2 separate regions of the Homo sapiens genome follow, and region 1 is linked to region 2. The links are contacts of gene promoters, found by promoter capture Hi-C in human tissues and cell types (Jung and others, 2019). All regions are on one chromosome and are shown on one strand. The core of a region is centred on a gene start or on the middle of the fragment in contact, and the rest is flanking DNA. Distances in the headings are between cores, read along the strand shown. Region 1 has its middle 150 kb from the start of BMP7-AS1. Region 2 holds the start of SPO11 (SPO11 initiator of meiotic double strand breaks).

What was found. The method cuts DNA at HindIII sites, captures the fragments that hold promoters and counts their contacts. A contact is called where the count stands out against the background at its distance.
Region 1: a contact is called between a fragment that was not itself captured here and the fragment with the promoter of SPO11 in region 2, in 3 of the 25 tissues and cell types used here (heart right ventricle, mesendoderm cells and thymus).

The regions. Positions count from the first base shown.
Region 1 is chr20:57,064,974-57,068,206 of GRCh38, forward strand. No RefSeq gene overlaps it. Among named protein-coding and RNA genes, the nearest start is that of BMP7-AS1, 150 kb to the right of the region's middle. RefSeq lists an enhancer at 122-623. The HindIII fragment of the contact is 5,357 bases long and covers 1-3,233 here.
Region 2 is chr20:57,328,404-57,331,229 of GRCh38, forward strand. It overlaps SPO11 (SPO11 initiator of meiotic double strand breaks), which reads left to right and starts at 1,400. Exons shown (of 13, transcript NM_012444.3): 1 at 1,400-1,595. The coding sequence starts at 1,465. LOC105372687 (a long non-coding RNA gene) reads right to left here and starts at 1,261. Exons shown (of 12, transcript XR_007067670.1): 1 at 1,018-1,261. It also overlaps the pseudogene RPL39P39. The HindIII fragment of the contact is 7,446 bases long and covers 1-2,826 here.

The sequences.
Region 1 (3,233 bases), core at 449-2,948, 260 kb before region 2:
TGCCCGTCCTTGAGCCACTGACTCCTTTTCGGGCTTCATGTTGGTGAGGTAACAAATTCCTTATTATTGGAGCCATTGGAGATGGTTCTTCTGTGTCTTGCTGCCAAGCACATCCTGACTGCTACGTCAGCCAGCCACTGTGCCACAGGAGCCATGAGGCTAGGTTTTGCCACGGGAGATACCGAACACAAGGGAAGAGGCTACAGGATGATGAGTGAATAGCTGGATTAGAGCTTCCTAGCATCTCAGCCTCACACTCTGACAACATCAAAGAAACATCTTTCTTGACACTTCTCCTCTTCCTGTTTCATTCACATTGAGAGAAAATTCTCTATGGTGTCTCCCATTTCTGCACATCTTGTGAGCAGAGGCACTGACAGCTTTTCTTCTATACTGTCTTTACAAGAAAACAACTTAGTAGACAGAAAAGTGTCTCCCTCTGGGGCAGCAGCCAGATTTGTTTGCCGTTGTTTACAAAGTTGATGTCTCCCTCCAGGGCAAAGGCTGATCATGTTTGCTTGCCCATCATCAATGATTTGGATTTTCTAAGCTCAAGATTCCTCAGCTGTGGAATCGCCACATCCAGCTGAGGACAGCCCTCAGCCTCAGCGGCTCTCAGACTCCCCAGGGACCCTGGCTCCCACCATGCCCCAGATGGCCCCTGGGCTGTTGAGTGACCATGGAGGGCCACCCCTTTGTATCAGGGGTTTGGATTTAATTAAAGTCTTAGAAAATATTATCTGTCACTGAGCAGCCCAGAAGGGTAGCCCTGCTCAGAACTGAGAAGCTTCTTCATGTGGCTCTCGAAGCTGTCAAACAGGCCCTCTGCAAACTGAGACTGAGGCCGTGTCAAATGCTTGTGGTTTACCTCGGGCTTTGTTATGTCCCAGAGTCTGGAATCCTGGTAATTACAGAAAAACGTCGGGTGGGGGGTGAAGGGAAGGCGTCAGAAAGTTATCTGTCTCAACAAAAGGAAGAGAGGAGAGGGAAAGAAAGGGAGAGAGAGACAGACAGAGAGAAGAGAGAGAAAGAGACAGAGAGAGAGACAGGGGGACCAAGGCTGCACGCTGTGAGCAAAGATTCTCAAAGGAAAATCAGAGCAGTCCTGTCGGAAGGGAGGATGGAGCTGGCCTGGCTAATGAACAAACAGAGCGAAACAGTCCCACAAAACAGATAGCTACTACACCATGCTTTCCAATGTTGAGAGCGCCGATGAAGATCATCACGTTCAAAAAGCAGGTCACCAAGCAGAATGTAAGCATGTATTTCATTTTTCAAAAAAGAAACACCCATTCTATACCAGTCTATCAACTGTGATGCTCTGCGGATGAGTCACAGTAGAGGTTTTAAAACAATTTTCTGTTGGTCTGCCTGCATCTGCTAATTTTCCTACAATGGGCATATTCTAGCAGTTCCCATGTCATGAACCCACCAAAGGAATAAATAAAAGACAGAAAACTGAGCAGACACGCAGATCCTCCCAAACCCTTTCTCCTTGTTAAGTTCTGTCTGCACAACAAAGACCAGTGGAGAAATGAAAAGCTGCAGTCAGTTTTCTGACTTTGCTGGCTGGGAGAAGCGATCTGGACTCATCTTTTCCAGGTGTTTGGGAACATGGCTCTGTCCCTGGGTGAGGAAACCTCAATTTCAGGCTGCTGATCACAAGTGCACCTTCCGTGACAATCTCCTTAGGGCTGCACTTTCAGGGAAGGAATAACATCAGGGCTGCAGCCCACACGGGTCGTACCCTTGGCAGAACCTCCTGGAGGCCCTGCCGGGGTTCCTGGGGTCCCAGGGATGGAGACATCCCTTTGTTTCCTGTTTAGGGTGGTTCTGATTACAGATGAGGCCAAACTGGAATAAATCACAACCAGACCTCCTCTAGCCAGTGGCTCAGGGCTCTGTTGATTACAGTATCATTAGCAGGAAGGAAGAGTTAACAGGGAAGACACAAGCTGATGTGGCTTGGATGTTGTCCCCTCTAAATCTCATGTTGAATTGTGATCCCTAGTGTTGGAGGTAGGGTCCAGTGGGAGGTTTTTTGGTCCTGGGGGCGATCCTTCCTAGCAGATGCTGCCCTCATGGTAGTGAGTGAGTTCTCACAAGATCTGGTTGTTTAAAAGTGTGTGACACCTCCCCCCACTTCTCTCTTGCTCCTGCTCTGACCTGTGATACACAGGCTGTCCCTTCACCTTCTGCCAGGACTGTAAGCAGCTCAAGGCCTCCCCAGAGGCCAAGGAGATGCTGGCATCACACTTCCTGTACAGCCTACAGAACTGTGAGCCAGTTAAACCTCTTTTCTTTGTAAATTACCCAGCCTCAGGGATTCCTTTATAGCAACACAAGAAAGCCCTCATAACAGCCTTGGGCTTCAGTAAGGGCTCCAAAGACAGGCAGATGTGAATTCCACCCCAGGAAAAAAGTCCTCCTGGCTGGGGGACCTAGGACAAGTGTCTTCACCTCTGAGACTCAGTTTCCACCCCTGGAAGACGGGGATGGTAAGTGTATTAGTCAGAGTTCTCCAGAGAAACAGAGCAATAGAAGATATATATATATATGTATATATATATATGTATGAAGAGGAATTGGCTTACATAGATACGGGGGCTGAGAAGCCCTGCTATCTGCCATCTGCAAGCTGGAGACCCAGGAGGATCTGGGATAATTCAGCCCAAGTCTGAAGGCCTGAGAACCTGGGGAGCTGATGTTGCAAATCCTAGTCCAAGGGCGAGAGAGGATGAGCTGAGATGTCCCAGCTCCATTTGGTAGACAGGAAGCAAAAGGGTGAAGCCCTCTTCTCTCTGCCTTTTGTTCTATACAGGCCCTTAAACAATTTGGACAAGGCCCACCCACATTGGGGAGGGCCATCTGCTTTGCTAAGTGAACCAATTCAAATGTTAATCCCATTTGGAAACCCTCTTACCAACACACCAAGAATCATGTTTAATCTGGGCATTAATTGTGGCCCAATCAAGTTGACACGTAAAATTACTGTGGTGGAAGGAAGTCTCCCTCATTGGCAGGATGAGGGGAGATGAGTGTGGGAGTGGCACACAAGTTCTTCACCTGTGGCAGCCTTTCTCATGTGACAGAGTAAAGATGAGGCATTTACCAACAACCCCTCCTTTGCTGGCCAAAGGGGCGTTAGTCCAGTTCAACCATCACTTTGTCTCCTGCCCTCTGGGGAGACTCACTCTCTATCAAACCCTTTGGGTTCTTGGACCTCCTTTCTG
Region 2 (2,826 bases), core at 150-2,649:
AGTCTGTCAGGGGATGACATGGTATAGAGGGAGAGGAGCTACATAAAATACAAGATGCCAGTTAAGTTTGAATTTCACATAAACAATGAAATAACATTCCTTTCTCTGCCATCGTGGTGTGTGCTTGACTCCACTTCTCGCCATGTCTTTCCCACAAGACTTTTGGGATTAAGCAATTCCTGGCCAAGAAACAAAAGCAAAATCGTCCCCAGTGGATTCGGATGAAAACTGATAATAAAATCAGGTACAACTCCAAAAGGAGACATTGAAGAAGAACCGAGCTGGGCCTATAAGGAATTGCACATGAGAGGGCACACATATTTATGCTGTCTGAAGGTCACAGTCATGTTACCACATCAAGCTGAAAATGTCACCGCTCTCTGGAGAGTTGTACATGTTTTATTGAGAATATATTTTTTCTCTCTGAATCTGTGATGAATGCGTTGGTTGGCTGGGTTCAGTAATAAATATGTGAGACCTTTCACTTAAAAAAAAAAAGAACTATTTTTTTTTTTTTGAGAAGGGATCGCCCTGTGTTGCCCAGCCTGGAGTACAGTGGCTATTCACAGGCACAATCCTAGCGCACAGCAGCCTTCAACTCCTGGAGCCTCTAAATCCATCCTCCTGCCTCAGCCTCCCTAGTAGCTGGGACTACGGGTGAGTACCACTGTGCAAGGCTACAAAATAACTTTTTAGTAAAAGTATATCCCAAACTTTATACGAGACGTAGTTACTCTAAAAAAAAAAAAGGATTTGCTGTTTATCTGAAATTCTAATTTAACTGGTTGTCCTGGATTTTCTTTGCCAAATTGGTCTGCCCTACGGAGTGCGAGGGCTGGGATTTTAACCCAGGCCTGCCTGCTCTGAGCTGACCTTTCCTGGCACCTGCAAAATTAGGATGACACGTTAGGAACTTCCTGGGGTTCTTAAGGGAATTAGAAGAGGGACCTGAGTGCAAAGGGCTTTGGAGGCATTCAACTGCTATGAAACGTTAGTAAGGACAGGGATTGCGTTCACCTCAATCACAGCTGAACCCATTGCCGAGAACTGTTATCCCACACAGCTGGATCTTCATCATTATGTGTTTTAATGAAAAATCGCTGATATTGCTGTCCCTAAATAGCCAACCCCCAAAATAATTAAATCACCTCAAGGGACTCTAGGTCCAATATCCGCAGCACGCCACACAAACATCTCTCAGCTCAGCCACGCAGGGCCGATGCCTGCGCGACCCACACTCAGGGAGGCGCCCGCCTCAGGGCCTCACAGGTGGGACCGCGCCTGAGAGCCCTGCGCTTGCGCACTCCACGCCGTGCTCTACGCATACGCCTGTCCAGCCCCGCCTCTGGGTGTGTGGCGTGGGCACGCCGGCCGCTCAGAAAGCGCGGGAAAGGCACGCAGCCACGCCCCAAGGGCGCAGCCTAGGACAGGGGCTTCTGGAGCTTCTGGCAGCCGTCTGCCCTCATGGCCTTTGCACCTATGGGGCCCGAGGCCTCGTTCTTCGACGTTTTGGACCGACACAGGGAGTCCCTGCTGGCTGCCCTGAGGAGAGGTGGCAGGGAGCCCCCAACTGGGGGAAGCCGCCTGGCCTCCAGGTACAGGAGCTGGTGCCGAGGCGCGACGCAGCCACTCTGTAGAAAAGTCGGGCGCTCTTCCTGGCCCCGGGCTGCCTCCTAGTGTTGAGGCTGAGGAGGCACCCCTTGGCGGGCCAGCCAGGAACCCCCAAAAAGATCCTTCCTGAGTACCCGTGACCTGCTTTGAACCCTTATTTTGAACTCAAAAAAGAAAGCCAGGTGGCAGCCCCCCTTCTGTGGCTTCTAGGATGTTCCCCTTCTAGAACGTTCCAGAGGCTCCCTGCAGCTGGGTTGGAAGGTTTCCTAAGATCCTTATAGGTTGGGGAGTTTGGGGTACAGTTAGCTTTGTATTTTTTAAACGTTTTTTGGGATAAAATTTTTGGTTAAACTTTAAGGGTTTTTTTTGGTTTTTATTTTTTGGTTTTTTTTTAGAAAGAAAATGAGTGTTGTATGTCTTCTCTCAGTAAGCGAATGGTTTTCTCAGAATTAACAAGGACATCAACACATTTTAAGTGGTTTATAATAAGACAACATGTTTAATTGTTTTGCAAGTGGAGAGAATGTACATATTTTAAATGATTTATTTAAAATCAATTACAGGAACCCTCCAGCTATCCATGTTAGAATTAACCACAGAAAACATGACTACGTTATTGACCATTTTCACTTAAAAATACTTTATTTTGTTTCCTCGACTTGCTTTCTTGGTTGAGCAAAGTTTTTCAGCCTTTTATTTTTAAGCCCAAACCAACCACCAAAAAATCTGAAAAACCTACAAACAAACCAATTTTTACAAAAGAATTTATTTTGAGGGAGAACTTGGGAGAGTGAGGGAAAAGGAGAGTGGCAAGTCCCTTGTTAATATCGCAGATGTAGACGAATCTGATTGTATCTTAAAGTTGGTTACAGTATTATCCTGCAACACTTTTTTTCTCCAAACTAGGAAAAATGAGTATTTGGGTCAGTTTTTACCTCCCAATATTAGAATAGATTAAATGTTTTAAAATTCATTTTCTGAAACACAAGTTTTCAGTAAAAATTCTGAAGTTCCTGTGGAAATTAAAACTCTCAACATTTTGCCCGTTTTCTAGAGTGCATTTGATTTCTCTTCCTAGACAATAAGCTCATGGTGTTTATAACAGAACAACATTTTTTGCAGCTGATGGCTTGTGAAATTAACAGTCAGCTGACAGAAAACTGGGCTTAGTCTTCGCATTTTGCTGTAGAGTGGCGTAATAGCTGCCAAGTCAAC